2 separate regions of the Homo sapiens genome follow, and region 1 is linked to region 2. The links are contacts of gene promoters, found by promoter capture Hi-C in blood cells and fetal thymus (Javierre and others, 2016). All regions are on one chromosome and are shown on one strand. The core of a region is centred on a gene start or on the middle of the fragment in contact, and the rest is flanking DNA. Distances in the headings are between cores, read along the strand shown. Region 1 has its middle 14 kb from the start of ANO3-AS1. Region 2 holds the start of LGR4 (leucine rich repeat containing G protein-coupled receptor 4).

Region 1 (5,832 bases), core at 2,421-4,920, 1.2 Mb after region 2:
CCAAAGTTGTTTATGTGGAATATTACTTTTTTTTTTTTTTTGCCTTGTAGGGAGCTAATGAATCGGTTTGGAATAAAAGTAATTCATAAACATCTAATTGGATAACTGTGAAGAGTTCACTTTTTCTTAATTTCTATCTCTGTAAAATGAGAAGATCGAACTGGACCCTTTTCTTTTTTTTAAAAAAAAGCAGTTTTCAAGTCCTTTAATTGGGATAATAATATGTTTATTATCAAATCTTCTTCAACCTGACCTTTCACAAAGTCATAATGCAGATAATAACATGAGTGACCAGTCTTGGTTGGAGAGCAATTTGGTAGAAATTTAAAAACTTAAAATACATATTCACTCTAACTCAGTAATCTCACTTCTGGGAATCTCTCTTTTCGGTATACATGCACAAAGCCAGAAAGATGGATTAACTGATGTTTGTTGCCATACTATGTGTAACATTGAAAAATTGAACACAAATCCTAAGAAAACTTGTATAACATAATTTTACAATCTTATGGAGCTAGTAAAAAATGAGGTGGTTCTATATGTACTGATATGGTGAAATATTATTATATATCCTTAAGTGAAAAAATAAGTTATCAAATGGCTGTACTATGACTTATTTGCAATCTCCCCTATTGTATTTATTTATCTATATTAGATAAATGGGAAAGAATAAGAAGGGATACATACATTAAACTGTAACTGTGGTTACCTGTGTACAGTGTCTTTGGGAGGTAATTTTTAAAAAAAGTTAAATAAGTGTTTGCAATTTGAGAAAATGGCCTTTAAATAATAAATAACATGAATTTAGTGGGTAAAAAGGCAATTAGTACTCCTCACTAGGTCCTAGTTATATTACATATAAATCCTTAATGCTTTTAAAGCATTATGTAGAGGACAATCTACATTTGCCATTGCTATAGGTACTCAACATACTATTTAAAGAGTAATAAGTTGAAGTCACTGAAAAAAGCCTAAATAAAAAGCTTCCTCTATTTCAAATGAAAATTGTAAATATGAAAATATTAAATTATGTACATATGAAAAATATTAATCCTTAGTAGTAATCGAAGAAAATGAATCAAAACAAGAATATAATACCATTCAATCAACATATTATAAAAGCCAAAGTGAATATTATTTGATATTACTTAAGATTTGATCACAAGAAACTTAAAAAAATAATTTTGGCCGTGCACGATGGCTCACGCCTGTAATCCTAGCACTTTGGGAGGCTGAGGCAGGTGGATCACGAGGTCAAGAGATCGAGACCCGCCAAAGTGGTGAAACCCCTACTCTACTAAAAATACAAAAATTAGCCAGGTATGGTGGCAGGCACCTGTAGTCTCAGCTACTTGGGAGGCTGAGGCAGGAGAATCACTTGAACCTGGGAGGCAGAGTTTGCAGTGAGCCGAGATCATGCCACTGCACTCCAGCCTGGGTGACAGTGCTAGACTCCATCTAAAAATAAATAAAATAATAACAATAATAATTTCAACTTTTATTTTAGATTCAAGTGGTACATTTGTAGGTTTGTTACATGGGTATATTGCATGATGCTGAGGTTTGGGATATGGATGATCCCATCAGCTAGGTAGTGAGCATAGTACTCAATAGGCAGTTTTTCAGTCCATGCGTTCCTTCCTCCGTCTCCCTCTTAATAGTCCCCAGTGTCTATTGTTTCCATCTTTGTGTCCATATGTACTTGATACTTAGCTCCCATTCATAAATGAGAACACAAAGTACTTGGTTTTCTGTTCCTGCATTAGTTCGCTCAGGATAATGGCCTCCAGTTGCATCTTTGTTGCTGCGAAGGGCATAATTTCATTCATTTTATGGCTGTGTAGTATTGTATGGTGTATATATACCACATTTTTTTTTTAAATCAGTCCACCATTGAAAGACACCTAGGTTGATCTCATGTCATTTCCATTGTCAATAGCGCTGTGATGAACATACAACTGCATGCATCTTTTTGGCAGAACGATTTATTTTCCTTTGGCTATATGCCCAGTAATGGGATAGCTGGGTCAAATGGTGGTTCTGTTTTCAGTTCTTCGAGAAATCTCCAAACTGTTTTCCACAGTGGCTGAACTAATTGACATTTCCACCAACAGTGTATAAGTGTTCCCTTTTATCTGAAGCCTCACTAGCATTTGTTATTGTTTTACTTTTTAATTATAACCATTCTGATTGATGCAAGATGGCATTTCATTGTGGTTTTGATTTGCATTTCTCTGATGATTAGTGATGTTGAGGATTTTTTCATATGTTTGTTGGCTACTTTTAAAAAATGTCTATTCATTTCCTTTGCCCATTATTAATAGGGTTATTTGTTTTTTGCTTGTTGGTTTAAGTTACTAGGAAATTTTATATATTACTGGTGCTAATAGTTTTTGCGTGATAGCATCATAATTTCTAAACACATATATATGTCCATACAAAAGCTGAAAATATATTACAGAATATTAAAAGTGCTGATTTTCAAATAATAAGATATAAGGCATGTTATTTCTTTCTCTGTGTACTTTCAACACATCCCAGTATTTATGCATTTGTACTTTGTTATTTATATTTTTTCTATAATGGTAAATATATAAATAGTTTGAAAGTAATATTTGTTTAAGGCCGTTAGTTTATTCACTGAAATAATCGGAGGCATTCTTTTGACTTCTGTCATTTTTCCTTTTTATTATCATTATTATTTTGAGACAGAGTCTCACTCTGTTGCCAGGCTGAAGTGCAGTGGCGCCATCTCACCTCACTGCAACCACTGCCTCCCAGGTTCAAGCGATTCTCCTGCCTCAGCCTCCTGAGTAACTGGCATTACAGGCGTGCGTCACCATGCCCAGCTATTTTTTGTATTTTTAGTAAAGACGGGGTTTCACCGTGTTGGCCAGAATATTCTCAATCTCTTGACCTCGTGATCCACCTGCCTCGGCCTCCCAAAGTGCTGGGATTACAGTCGTGAGCCACCGCACCTGGCCATCATTTTTCTTAAATAAACTCTCATACACTAACCACTTTTTATGAATTAGCTATTCTCCTCACTTCTCCAAAGAACCAGATAAAATTCAGTTTATGTATAAGAAATTATATGAGACAGACAGCACATGATGACTGGAAGACTGGCTGAATCTTGGCAGTTACCTTCACAGTCTCTGCCTAGTACCTTGTAGCTTAGCAGGGCTGAATCACCAGTCTCTCCCCTACTTTTCGATTTGGGATATTAATAACTTTCTATCATTTTTACCATAAATGCTCTTCTAAAACATGCAGGCCTATCTATGTGATGGGGCTTAGAAATGAGTTGATAATGTAAAGGTCTATCTCACTCTCACTTTGAGCCTCCTTGTCTTTTGAGATGACATCAATGGGGGCAGGGATAAAACAGTCTGTTCTATAAGGTAATTGAAGGTTTTTGTAACAATAGGGATGGAAGAAATAAAACATTTTATCATAGAAGGCATTTAAGGGTTTTTGCAACTGTAGGTATGTAAGAATCTTTTACCTGAACTTAACATTCATTTTTCATTCTCTGTCTCTCTTCTTCCTTCCCTATCTCTCAATCCCTCCACTCCCCTACATAACATAATGTGTTTATAGAATGACAGAAGTGGAAGAAATACTAGATCTTCCATTCTACTTTTAGGAATTGTAATCCTTGGAGCACTTGAATTATGTGTAGCTGCATCAAAGAAACCTAAAACAGTACAAAGGTGTTCAGTGAGTGGCCAACTGGATGCACCAGCCCTTGTTTAAATAAAAGTACTTCAGTTTCATTTATGCTGCTATTTTAAAATTATTTTAACTGCATATCTAGTCTATTTTTTCTCATTTAATAAGCTAAGAAACTACAGACTCAGAAAGCTCAATTACCTAACCAAGGCTATAAATAGGCAATGTCAGAATTAGGACAACAATTCAGGTATTTGGTTTTTAAATTCCAAATTGAAATTAGAAATCCAATGACAGTGGTAACAATCTGTCATTCTGGGATTGCCATAGTTTATTAAATACATTATGAAGAGGCAATTAAGAAAGTAAAGAGGCTGGGCGTGGTGGCTCACACTTGTAATCCCAGCACTTTGGGAGGCCGAGGCAGGTGGATCTCGAGGTCAGGAGTTCAAGACCAACCTGGCCAACATGGTGAAACCCCATCTCTACTAAAAATACAAAAATTAGCTGGGAGTGGTGGTGGGCACCTGTAATCCCAACTACTTGGGAGGCTGAGGCAGGAGAATCGCTTGAGCCCAGGAGGCAGAGGTGGCAGTGAGTGGAAATTGCACCACTGCACTTCAGCCTGGGCAACAGAGTGAGACTCCACCTCAAAAAAAAAAAAAAAAGAAAAAAAAGAAAGAAATAAATAAAGTAAAGAAGTACCCAGGCAACAGTAGTGACATTATCCTAACAAGAATATGAGCGATATTATGCAAGGTTATGTTATTTTGCTTCAACTGAGTTACTGAATATATAAGATAATTTATGTTGAGCATCTGCTAAACATTAGCATATAATTTTTCTATACACCTGTTCCACAGACACATATCTATAAGGGAAACTTCTAGAAGTTTGTTCCTATGTGACTGCCAAAATCTGGGCCAATCCTTTTTATCTGGTCCTTAGTCTCCCCATCTATAATGAGGAGAATGAAACTGATCTCTAAAATAATTTTCAATTCTTACATACTTGGTTATTTAGTTGGTGTGTCTCGATTCTTCTCCAGCCTCACTAACTCTCCTTTTCAGCCTCCTTTGTCATTCCTCTTTTTCTTAACCTTTTAACTTTGCAAATGCTATAAAATGGGGGGCAAATGTCGAGAGAGAGAGAGAGGGAGAGCAAATGAGAGAGAGAGATGGAGCCAAAAGGAAAACAAAAATTGCATAGGAAAGATGTAAAACAACTTGCTTTTAAAAGTAAGGTGTGTATGTGTGTGTGTGTCTGTTTGGTGTCTCTGTGTATGCGTGTGTCTGTGTGTGTGTGTCTGTGTGTGTGTGCGTGCGTGCTTGCATGGGCATCGCACTTCCTCCATACTCATACCTATGCAATTAAACCATAAATGAAGGAAAAAACATGCCAGCATACAGACTGGTCTTCCTCAAATTCCTGATAATAACCCCACATGAGGGCTTAATGGTGCCCAGCAGTCAAAATATTTTTCCCAGGTCCAGCTATTCTCCCACTCTCCTAGAAGACTACTTCATACTTTATTCCCTCATTTCAAACCCTGTCTTCCAACACCTCCTCCCTATATCTCACTCTTAGCTGATAATTTTGCTTCCTATTTCACTGAGAAGACTGAAGCAATGTGAAGAAAACTTCCACAGCTCCCACCCACTTATTGGCAATTGTATACTCATATATTCTGCCTTCCTGACTGATAGTCTAGATAAACGAACTGTATTCCAACAAAGGCCATCTCTTCCACATATGGAGTAGTTTCTATCCCTCACTCCTACTTCAGGACAGCAGCCCAATAATTTCCCATACATGCTCTCTCCCTACAGAGTCAAGTCCAGTCCCTGCACCCCCTGCCATTCTAGTTGATAATTATCATCACCATACAAGCATGCCAGTCTCCGCCTCCCCACTCTAGTTGACATTTATCATCACTATACAAATAGGTCTTCTAATCCCTAAAAAGAATAGGAAAAAAAAAAGGCAATCTCTCTTGACTCTAGTTTTCCTGGTGGCTTCTTCTCAACTTATTTGTTGCCTTTTGCTCCACTAGTCCACAAAAGCAGATAAAGTTAGAACCAAAACTTACTATTTCTAATTCATTTTTCAAAAATCCTCTACAGTATTTATTTATTTTCCTCTTATCACTTCACTAAG
Region 2 (5,798 bases), core at 1,370-3,869:
GGAGACTAATTGACCAATGTATCTCTAATGCAAAGCATACAAAATGTACCAAATAAGAAATACAAACACTTCAATATATCTTATCTTTTCTGTTCCCTACCCAAGTCTTTTGTTCCTGATCTTTTATCTTCTTGGCTAAGCTGCAAATTTGAATCTTCCTTTCTTACATTTGTCATCTAATAGACAATAGGAATTTATTTTTTAGTAAAATCTGCATCTCCCCTTTTTTCAAAATATAAATCTCTCCTTTCACCTAAGTTTTCAGCCATAAGATTTTATTATTTGAAGACAAAGAATAAAGTTCTCCAAGTGTGGTTCATGAATCACCTGTGTCACTTTCACTTGCTGTGCAACAAAATGCTGGTTTCTGGGCCCCACTTAGGCCTACTAAATCATTCTGCATTTTTAATCAAGATTTGCATATAAGCCGGACTCCGTGGCTCATGACTGTAATCCCAGCACTTTGGGAGGCCAAGGCAGGTGGATCACTTGAGGTGAGGAGTTTGAGGCCAGCCTGGCCAACATGAGAAACCCCATCTCTACTAAAAAAAAAAAAAAAAAAAAAAAAAAAAAAGTAGCTAAACATGGTGGTGGGCACCTGTAATACCAGCTACTGGGGAGGCTGAGGCAGGAGAATCACTTGAACCCGGGAGGTGGAGGTTGCAGTGAGCCAAGATCACGCCACTGGACACAGTGAGTGAGAGTCCGTTTCAAAAAAAAAAAAAAAAAAGAAGAGATCTTAAAGAAACGATTACAGAAACTAACTTTACAATTTCTTCCTTATTTGTTCATGACAGTTGCTAGAAAATAATGGAAATGATTTAGACGATGAAAGCCTATTTAGGGAAGGCTCTAAGAGTACCAGATTAGGAGCCAGGAGCCCAGGAGCTGTTCCGTGATGATGTTGGGCAGAACACACTCTCTCTCGAGCCTCAGATTTCTTATCTATAAAACCAGAGTTTTCTGGGGGTCTTTAAGTTGTCTTTCAGCCCTGCAGTGAGAGGAGATATGTCATTCCTAAAACTTGAAATGAAGGCATATGTTTATTTATTAACTCTCTAGCTTCTAGACAGATTTACTGTATGTGACTTATGTGCCCAACCTGACATTATCTTTTAGATAAACTCCCAAATACAAAGATGATAAAATTTTTTCATTTTAAACTTATAGGTCTGCATCAACCTGTTTCCATTGTCCTAAGTTTTATTTACATACGATGGCTAGTCAACTTTATATGATAATTATCTTTAAATCCTGCTTTTTTTTTTTTTTTTTTTTTTTTTTTTTGAGACAGAGTTTTGCTCTTGTTGCCCAGGCTGGAATGCAATGGCGCGATCTCCAGCTCACCGCAACCTCCGCCTCCCGGGCTCAAGCAATTCGCCTGCCTCAGCCTCCCGAGTAGCTGGGATTACAGGCATCTGCCACCACACCCGGCTAATTTTGTATTTTTAGTAGAGACGGGGTTTCTTCATGTTGGTCAGGGTGGTCTAGAACTCCCAACCTCAGGTGATCCGCCCGCCGCAGCCTCCCAAAGTGTTGGGATTACAGGCGTGAGCCACCGCGCCCGGCCGAATCCTGCTTGTTTTAATGTATTCATTAAAAATGTCTCCATTATAGAGTAAAACGACTCAACGCCATGGCAGAGAGCAAGAAACGAAGTACCCTTAAAGCCGTAGTTGGTACAGGTAATGATTCCGTGGGGTCTATTAGGCCACAGGGACTCAAAATCCAGAAGAGGAGGGAATGCTGATAATTACCTAACACCAACGTTGCTGCTGGCTTCTCAGCCGTAGTCACCTCCCACTCAGATGTTTTGGAAATTGTCCAGTGTTCAGAAACATCACTTTCTCTGACCTTTTACAAAATTCCTGTGTTTCAGGATTTTAAAGTGCGTGAGAAAGGAGTCTAATTTGCAGTCACCAAAAACACCAAATACAGAGAGAGGACTGGGGAGAATGAATTGCTAAGACTTAGCTACCAAATGTGTATCAAGATAGGTGTAAAGATCCCAGGTGAAGTGAGGCACTGGAGAGGGTACACTTTTAACTTAGTGTATAGCTAAAACCCAAAGATGTGTGTCAGATCGAGGGAAACTTTTTTCCTCCTCTTCAAAATCTTTTTTCCGTTTGCAGAGCTCCAGACGTCCTCGCCCTTTGGAACAGCGGAGAGTCATTTAAAACTTAACTGAACGCTGGAGGGAAGTTCTACTTACCAGGTCATCCAATTTAGGAGATCCAATTTCTGCGGAGGGAACAAAAAGACGGGTGGGGGAGGGAAAAACTAGACCCCTTGTCCTACTATCCTTCTACCTTCAATCCACAACCTGCCAGACAAATCCAGCCAAGTCAAGATTTTGCCTTGAACCACCACCACCACCACCACCACCACCGCCGCCACCACCACCACCACCACCGCCGCCACCACCACAACCACCACCACCTTGTCACTCACGCCCGAGAAACACGCCCCTCTGGTCCTCCTCTTGGCCAATGGCGGCTCTCCTCTCTGCATAGTAATGAGCTCGAGACCTCCCCGGGCCAATGGCGCTCCGGGAGAAGGGATACTTTTGCATGTACCTAAGTGATTTGCATAAGCCAGCGGCCGGGGGTTTGGGAACCAGAGCGTGCAACCCTAGAAGGGAAAAGGACGGGAAGAGATTGAGCCGCGGCTGGGAGACAGCGAGCCAGAGTCTGGGTGTTTGTGCGAGAGCCACGGCGGGGGCTGGGGCGAGTGGCCGGCATGGCTGAAGGCTGCGCTCTGCAACCTTGAAGAGCCGCTGCATTGAGAGGCCAGGGACAGGGAGACCGGTGCGATGGCAGAGCGCGGCCCCCGCCGCTGCGCCGGGCCGGCCCGGCTGGCGTGAGCCGCCGGAGGAGCGGGGCTGCCTCTGCGCGTCCATGGAGCAGCGGGAAGGGCGAAACTCCGGAGCGCCGCGTCCCTGCGCCGCTGCGGCGGACTGCTGAAGGGGCCGAGCCCGCGCGGACCGCCGAGGAAGAGACCCCCGCTCCAGCCCGCAGGCCGGCTGCCCGGGGGCGGCGGGGGACATCGGAGGGCAGCGGAGCGAGCAGCGCCGCGGGAGAGGCCGGCGCGGGAGGCGGCCGCAGCAATGCCGGGCCCGCTAGGGCTGCTCTGCTTCCTCGCCCTGGGGCTGCTCGGCTCGGCCGGGCCCAGCGGCGCGGCGCCGCCTCTCTGCGCGGCGCCCTGCAGCTGCGACGGCGACCGTCGGGTGGACTGCTCCGGGAAGGGGCTGACGGCCGTGCCCGAGGGGCTCAGCGCCTTCACCCAAGCGCTGTGAGTGCGGGCGGCGGGGACGCGAGGGGGGGGGAGGAAACGGGGCCCAGCGGGGGGCGCCGCGGGGCGGAGCCAGGGGTCAGTCCCACCCCACCCCGCCCCGCCGCCGCCCGGGCCTGGGGAGGGGGTCCGCCGGTCACCTGCGTGCGGGCTGCCTGGCACCCACTCCTGTGCCACGGGCTTTCCGCACTTTGCTAGTCCGGGTTCGAGCCAGCAGTAGCTTTCGTTCCCAGACTTTTTGGGCACAAGCACCCTCCCACCCCACCGCGCACACCCCCAACTCACAAGTGCATCTGGGGCCAAGAAGGAGGAAGTAATCTAAAAACGCTTGCCCCTGGCAGCCTGTCCACGCGACCTTCCCTTCTCATGAGGGCCCTCGCTCAGCGGGCAGGAGTTCCGCTACTGGCGGGGCTGAGGGCGCCGAGAACTTGGCCTCAGTCTGCATACCGAGGCATGTCTCGTGGGGAAGCACCTGGAGCCTCCTGGGTTCCAGCATGTGGGGAGAAGAAACACCTGTACCTCAGTCAGGGCGAATCTCCTTCCAATTTGGCCCCATCCAGGTAGTGCGTCCCGGCACCTACCTCGGCCCAGTTCCACTCGGGACTACCCCACTAACGCCCAGGCTTCTGCAGCACGCAGGGGAGTCCGAGAAAACAAGGGAGAATTACAGGGTTCTGTTGGTGGACATGCTCTTACCCAACAAGGCCTTTTAAAGAAGGAATGCTGACCTGAGGTGCAGGATGTTGGAAGAGAAGCAAGTTCCGGAGCATATGCTCAGCCCAGGCTGCAAGGTAGCAGCAGGTTTCTAATGCACCTTCACGCAGCCAGCAGATCTTTTCTTTTGAGCTGCCTGAGATCGAGAGACACACTGAAATGTTTCAGACTTACAAAATCGCCCTGCCAAAACGGACTTGAGAGCTTTAGACGTTCCCTTGAGAAAAGAAGAGGAATCTGAACTAGGTTGTGGAGGTGGTGGCAAAGGCCACGGATAGAGGAGGAACAGGGTAGGGTTTTTGTGTTCTTATTGCTTCTTGCGTTGCGTGGCCAGCTGAATGCTTAAATCAGGAGCAGTCGAAGAAACGTGTGAGAGAGGAAGGGATCCTGAGGGGCCCTAGGGTAGAGGGAATTTCCTTTTACCTGTAGTGGAAGGGACCTCTTAGAAATAGACAGTTTTAAAGGACCCTGTGAAGAAATCTTTATGCAGGCAGGAGCATTGCTGTATTTCCAGGTGGGTGGTGGCAAAGGTGTTCCGCTTGCCCTCTCAGGATGGACTTTTAGTGAGCATCGAGGCCTGTTGTCTTGGAACCTGTTTCATTCTTCTACCTTCAGCCTTCCCCTCCCCATTTGTTATTTTTCCTGTCTCAGGTTAGTTTTAGTTATGTATTTGAGGTTTTTTTTTTTTTTCAGTATAGTGAAGTTTAACTTGTCATTAAAAAAAAAAGTTAACTTTGCAGTGAAGAGCATTTTGTTCATAAAGTTACATTAAGTGGGAAAGTTTGAGCAGGAATTGATTGAATCAAGAGAAAGAAGACCTGTGGAGAGGAAATGGGACTAATTTTTCCCCAAGTTCTCTAGAAACGTTTAGGGAATTCGTGCAGAAAGAAATGCAGAAAGAAAGGTCCCTTTACCTGAACCTCTTGCAAGGCTCTGCATAGAATAGAAAAGCACAATTTTACTATTTTGACCAGTAGTAAAGACCTTGTTTAGCAGATTCCTCACATTTTAGTGAGTAGACTTGTCCTATAAGGAAACGGGCTGTTTTACATTAGTATCTAAAACCACAGAGAAATAATCACACTTTTATGAGAGCATACTCCTCTCTCCAAAGCATCTTCTGGTAGAACTCACTGAAGGTGGTGAAATGCTGTATCTTCAACTTTGGGCCTTAGAATAAGTTAGTGTTCATGGCTTAGGAAACAGAAAAATAATTGGTACCAGTCTCAATTAGAGTGCCTAAACTAGCATTATCTTAGCACTTTCTGAGCTTTGGTGGTGTGCAAATGTGTTTTATTTTCTTAGATTTGTGACCTGTAGGTAGAGTGATCGTACATTCTGGTGACTCCTTATTTCTCCTTAGTACTCATTTCACCCTCAAAAATATATATAACCACCCTCTCTAAAAGGGTTTTCAAGGACAGCATATTTGCATTTTACTCATGGGGAAACTAGCTCATTCAGTGATTCTCAAAAGCAATGTATGAAGCAAGGCCAGTGCTGCAGGTTTGCACACTCCAGTCGATCATATATGGGACATGTTGCGATCACCTAGGGTCTTTTTCCAAGTACTTCCAGTCTGCTCTCCCATCGCAGCTTTACTGAGATACAGTTACACATCAGGAGACTAGTTCCGTGGTCTCTAAGCGTTTGTTCACCTATTCTTAATTGCTGGAGCATGTGAACCAAAAACCTCTGTAGTTATACAGAAAATTACAATCATGAAAGTAGAAGTTAAAAAGATGAAACTATAATTACTAATCAGAGTTCTTCATTTTCTTCTCATTGCTCAA

What was found. The method cuts DNA at HindIII sites, captures the fragments that hold promoters and counts their contacts. A CHiCAGO score of 5 or more calls a contact.
Region 1: a fragment that was not itself captured here is called in contact with the fragment with the promoter of LGR4 in region 2 in 1 of 17 cell types (naive B cells); the score reaches 5.3 in naive B cells.

Annotation. Positions count from the first base shown.
Region 1 is chr11:26,299,367-26,305,198 of GRCh38, reverse strand. It overlaps a transcript of ANO3 not described here. Among named protein-coding and RNA genes, the nearest start is that of ANO3-AS1, 14 kb to the right of the region's middle. The HindIII fragment of the contact is 5,370 bases long and covers 986-5,832 here.
Region 2 is chr11:27,469,611-27,475,408 of GRCh38, reverse strand. LGR4 (leucine rich repeat containing G protein-coupled receptor 4) reads left to right here and starts at 2,619. Exons shown (of 18, transcript NM_018490.5): 1 at 2,619-3,291. The coding sequence starts at 3,107. It overlaps LGR4-AS1 (LGR4 antisense RNA 1), which reads right to left and starts at 3,678. Exons shown (of 4, transcript NR_131170.1): 1 at 3,577-3,678; 2 at 2,452-2,631; 3 at 2,213-2,241. RefSeq lists silencers at 2,846-2,895, 3,026-3,195, 3,446-3,505. The HindIII fragment of the contact is 11,499 bases long and covers 1-5,798 here.